2 separate regions of the Homo sapiens genome follow, and region 1 is linked to region 2. Evidence: promoter capture Hi-C in 16 types of primary human blood cells and fetal thymus (Javierre and others, 2016). All regions are on one chromosome and are shown on one strand. The core of a region is centred on a gene start or on the middle of the fragment in contact, and the rest is flanking DNA. Distances in the headings are between cores, read along the strand shown. Region 1 overlaps C10orf90 (chromosome 10 open reading frame 90). Region 2 holds the start of FANK1 (fibronectin type III and ankyrin repeat domains 1).

Evidence for each region. The method cuts DNA at HindIII sites, captures the fragments that hold promoters and counts their contacts. A CHiCAGO score of 5 or more calls a contact.
Region 1: a fragment that was not itself captured here is called in contact with the fragment with the promoter of FANK1 in region 2 in 1 of 17 cell types (M1 macrophages); the score reaches 5.3 in M1 macrophages.

The regions. Positions count from the first base shown.
Region 1 is chr10:126,499,377-126,502,076 of GRCh38, forward strand. All of the region lies in intron 4 of C10orf90 (chromosome 10 open reading frame 90), which reads right to left. LOC105378549 (a long non-coding RNA gene) reads left to right here. Exons shown (of 3, transcript XR_001747637.3): 2 at 1,539-1,609. Among named protein-coding and RNA genes, the nearest start is that of LINC00601, 79 kb to the left of the region's middle. The HindIII fragment of the contact is 1,662 bases long and covers 523-2,184 here.
Region 2 is chr10:125,895,142-125,897,860 of GRCh38, forward strand. FANK1 (fibronectin type III and ankyrin repeat domains 1) reads left to right here and starts at 1,423. Exons shown (of 11, transcript NM_145235.5): 1 at 1,423-1,514. The coding sequence starts at 1,502. It also overlaps a transcript of DHX32 not described here. RefSeq lists silencers at 928-1,007, 1,228-1,307, 1,468-1,607, 1,699-1,993. The HindIII fragment of the contact is 2,086 bases long and covers 430-2,515 here.

The DNA of each region.
Region 1 (2,700 bases), core at 104-2,603, 600 kb after region 2:
GGGAAAAAGAAAAGTTTGCTGATCCCAATTCTAGATCATTGAAGAAAAAAAATCACATTTGTAAAATATCTTCTGGTCCCTCTAGTAAAAAAAGTCCTCATGGGATGAGAGTGGGAGTCTAATGCAGGCTTCTCCCCTACAGGTAGGCTTGGCTTGTGTGTACATGGTTTGTTATCTGCCCTTGAGTGGCGTAAGTGAGATAAGCCTCACTCGCTATTAATGTGGCAGACCATACCATCTAAGTGTGAGTAGGCACAGTGCTCATTTGGAGACCTGGCAAGGACTTCTGCCTTCCAGTCATCCACATCTTTATTCACTAGTGATGCTAAACTCCACCGAGGACATCTCAGACCAATGCCACCAAAGCCTGTGAACTGACTGAGGGAGTTGCAACATGGGCCCACCATAGAACGCGAACGCAAATAGATGTGGACAGCGTATTCACTAGTCTCCTCTTCAATAGCATCTACCATCATCAGAAGATTTTGCTCCCTCTACTTGGATATCTCAGAAATGGTAAAAAGCTTCAGATTTAAGCCACAGATGCACAATAAAATTGGCAGTAAGAAATGTGTCTAAGTCAATAGTGAGTCAGGCATGCACATCCGGTGAGGTGGGAACCATTTGGATCAACACTGTATATTTCACAGACCACCACAAAGAACTGGATTTCAGGCTGAGGAGGATTTCTGAGCCAATACATTTTAATCGCATAAAATGATATGGCTTATTACATTTTTTCATAAATTAACTTGCAGTTCACTCTCCTAATAGTCTACCGGGGTAACTGGCAACCAAATACCAGTATTACTCCAGATGTTCATAAGCAGCCTTCAGATACCACCTTTGGTAGTGGCAGAGGAGGTGGGGCCTGCCGTTGAGTCACCACCATCTTAATTGCCCTGCCTGGGGCTGTCACTGAGAAGGGAACAGCAGGAGACAAGTACACAGCTCTAGCACCAATTGGCCACGTGGACTTGGGCAAATCATTTAATCTTCAAGCCTCATTTGTGTTGTGTGAAAAATAAAGATAATGATACTCTTTACAGATGGTTGAATGATTCAAAATAATGGATGCAGCCCAGGGCCTGGTGCCTAGGACTTCTAGAACATATGTTGTGGTTATGAATAAGATGATGATGATGACGATGATGATGGTGATGATGACAAGAATGGGGATTAAATTTTTTATGATAGATTCGAAGATTTGCCCAATGCCCACCTACTTGGTGCTATCTGAATGCTTACCAGTAGTAGAGATGTAAAGACAAAACATACAGGGACTGAGGAGATGAGCAAAGAGAGAACCAATTTCTTAACATTCAGCCTGAGATGAGAGCAGGTGCTCACGCGTCTATTGGAATGCTATGTCTCAGTAGAAACAGCTATTTGAATTGCATGATGTGCTTGTGTCTCATTTTTCCTCATCTTCTCTTTTGGGTGCATATCCTGGAGGCTCATTCATGAATACAATTTGTAGAACTTTCTGTCCAACGACCTAATGACTAGAACTAAAATTGCTTTGCCTCTGTTTGTAGAATTGCCCAGGCTGTACCCACCAAGCAGCTGAATGTCAGTAAGCCAGCCAACAGAAGATCCTGCTCATGAGGTATTTTGGAATCCTTCAGATACAAAGAATCAGATTCAGTAACTATGAAGTAAGAAGACTGCTAATAGCATGTGTAACCACAGGAGGCTGTCAAGAATGTCTCAGATAGGATTCCAGTTTCAGACAGGAAAATATAAACAGTTCCTCTGAGTTTTAATGAGCACTGCTGCAGTCTGAAAGCTCTTGCATTAAGGCTAAAGGTTTTGTGGAATCTGAAGGTCAGCAAGCTCACCCTCCACACGTTGTGCAGGCTGTGCAAGGACAGCCCGTGGTCATTAGAGTCAATGAGCTGTGCTGGTAAATTTCAGGCCAGAATTCTACAGCATGGACAGATGTGCTTTCTTGTCACCTGAGAAGAAATAGAGTCCACTGGAAATTATTTCTGAGTGAGGGAGCACACAGCCAGGGGTGCACGTGTAGGTGAAGGTGTGCATTTGTAGGCATCCGAGGCAAGTGCCCCACAGCACACCCCAGGGCTCTGTGGCTTTGGACTTTGCAACTGAGGGGTCCAGAATCCCACGGAGCCTCTTTTCTTTACAGAGTCCACCTTGGGCAAATAGAGCTGAAATTTTTTAAGCTTGATGGGACCTCGAAAACACCCAATCTACCCCCTGCTCTAGTTACCCAGATGAGGAGTTCAGAGAGTATCACTCCTCCACATTCACTGAGCTAGAAATAATAGATCAGCAACTCCACAAAAAGTTCTTCCAAATGTGGTCTATATATACACCATGGACTACTACTAAGCCATTAGAAGGAATGAAATCATGTCTTTTGCAGCAACTTGGTTGAAGCTGGAGGCTATGATTCTAAGTGAAGTAACATAGCAGTGGAAAGCCAAAAACCGTATGTTCTCATAAGTGGGAGCTAAGCTATGAGTACGCAAAGGCATACAGAGTGATATGATGGACTTCAGAGACTCAGAAAGGGGAGGGTGAGAGGTGGGCCTAGGGATAAACACACACACACACACCACATATACACCACACACACACACCACACACGCATACACACACACCACACACACACACCATACACACACACCACACAACCACACACCCACACCACACACACGCACACACACACCACAC
Region 2 (2,719 bases), core at 173-2,672:
TGGAAGAATATAATAAATGTCAGTTTCCATCACAGAATATATGCTTCTCAAGTTCAATTAACCTCTCAATGATTCCCTAAGAGGAAAGTAATTCTCCTTAGTGTCCTTGTCATCCATGGAGTGGAAATCTTTCTACTGGCAAGATTAGTAATCACTTCCATGACCCCCAAAACGGCTCTTCCTTCCATTTCCCTCAAGTACTGTCTGGAGCAGCGGTTGGAATTAATAGAGGGGCCATAATCTCCAGACCTGAATACCAAATCAATCCTGCAGCCCCCCACACCCTTAATGCCCCTGCACTTTCTTGCTTATCCTTTTTCTCTCGTCTCCATTTTTCTTTCCTCCTTCTGGTGTTCCGGAACCTATGATACTCTCCTGGTTGTTTGAATTTTTACAACCTACCAGATAATAATCTCTTGTGATCCTCAAAGCTTCCTTAAAGCAAACCCTGAATCACTGTGTTTTAAAACCAGTATGAAAGACTATTGTGTGGGATAATGTTACATTGTTTCACAGCCCTACAAAGTTTGGCCACAAAACGTGTGGGCAGATTCCGTAACTCAACCGGAAACGCGAAGGACTGAAACAAATCAACACACAAAAAACGAAGCCAGCGAGAAAGATCCAACCCGGGCCCCCTGCCTGAAATGGGACACGGGGATGACGGGGCAAAGCCGGGCAAAACCGTGCTCCTGGCTCTCGCGATTCAGGAGACGCGCCAGGCTCACTGGGGACGACAGCGACGACGGCGGCGGCTCGCATTGCTCCACGCTTCCCGTCAGGGGGGCTCGAGGGACCGCCCCAGGCCCGGCCCATGCCCGGGCTCGGAGGGAGCCCCTGGTGCGAGGGCTGCCCGCAGGGCTCCGTCCTCCCGCTGAGGCGCGGCTCCCGGAGCAGGAGGCGCGGAGGCCGCCCTCGGCGTTTCGGAGTCGGGGCGGGGAACGTCCACGGCCAACTGCGGGCAGGGGACCCCCAGGCGGCTACAACAGGTGCGCCGGGGCCGCCCACCCGGCTCGGGGCGCGCCCGCCCCTGCGCCGACCCCCGACCCCTTCCGCCGCCGGGGCCCCGCTGTTACCTGCAGCGGCGGCTCCCGATTCCCGGGAGGGCGGCCCAGGGCCGGCGCCTTACCCGCGGGCAGGCCCACTCGCCCGACGGACGCCGCGGGTCGGCGACAGCGGGGACCGCGGGTCGGCGACGTCGGGGCACAGGTCCTGCGGGGCCGCGGGGGCCGCCAGGGAGGGCGCGACCGCCTGACCGGGCTTCAGGAGCAGTGTCCTCAGCCGGTGACCTGGCCGCTACCCTCGCTCAGTGTCCCCGGCGACGCGCGGGTCCTCACGCGCTCCCTCACTTCCTGCGGCTTTTGGTCCCTCCCGCTCGCCGTCCCTTTAGTTCTGCCCACTTCGCCTCCGGGTTGTCAGGGCAACCGTAGCGACGCCGGCCCTGGCTGAGAGGCGTTAGGAGTCCGGGGGTTCGCCCGCGGAGGCCGGGGAGCAGCCGACCATGGAGCCCCAGAGTAAGGGAGGCCCGGGCTGGAGCTGGGACCGGGGCGGGCGACCGGGCTGGGGCTCCCCGGGAACGAGTGTGGGCGCCCCGCGCGCGACTCCGCAGGTTTCAACGCTCGGACACGGAAATACGGTTTGCGTCTCCTCGCGCTTTTCTCTCCTGGAGAGGGGAGAAGGGGGCTACATCCTGCCAAGTCTGTATGGTTGGGCCGCCGGCGCCCTAGAGTCCGCGCTGGGGGCTGGGAGCGACTGGAGAGCCCCGAGGTATGGGTGGGGAAGGGCGCAGCGACCCCAGCGTGCGTCTTCCTGAAACTTCGCCCGGACGGTTCCATTTACTCCTCCTCCTACTCATGATTTTAGTTTGGTAGTTTGGTTCATTAATTGTAAGTAGCCCATTTTTCTTCTAAAATGTCAGCAATTAAACACGTCCGAGGCTGGGTCTTGTATTTATTAGAGACCCCGTCTTACTCCCCGCCCCCCGCCCCACACCCCTAGTCTGCGACTTGAAGGAGAGAGAGAGAAAAGAAGAGCTTTGTCCAAGTGTATTTGATTCATTCTTAGGGGTTCTACAAGTTAGGACACTCAAAAAATGTTTGTAATCTCTTTTTCTGTTTTCCCATGTTGCTTTCGATGTATGGCAAAAGTTGTGCAGTTTTGAGTTATCAGATCTAAACACGAGCTCTAACTTACTATTTTTGTTGTTGTTTTTACCTTTCCAGGGACTTTGTTTCAAGGCCTTTCTTTCTCTGCCCCGCCTAAGCTGTCTTATTGTTCCTTTTGTTCTCAAAATAAGGGGAGTGTTTTGTATGGAGACTTAAAATTTATCTAAAACCTTTATAGAAGGATGCAGTTTGACTCTCAAACCAAGTCGTCTTATCTTGTACAATTTCAGAAATGAAGAACTCAGACCAAATCTATTCTCTGGGGAAAATGTTGGCATTTTTAAAGGTCATTCGTTTTCCACCAAGAAAGTTTCAAATACTTTTCCTTTTAACTCATTTGCTGAGGAGAAAGCTTGCAAGTTGTGACTTATAGTTGCTTGATAGATTTTGTACAGTATTTGTCATTTGCATTTACAGCTCTTTGGATTCTACATTTTTTTAACCTAGTAAAAGAAATTTAGCATACAAGAACGCTAAAATTTTTGTTTTATGTCAAACTGATGGCAGGCTGTGTATATTCCCGCCTTAGAGAAGTGAGTTGAAATATACCTTTT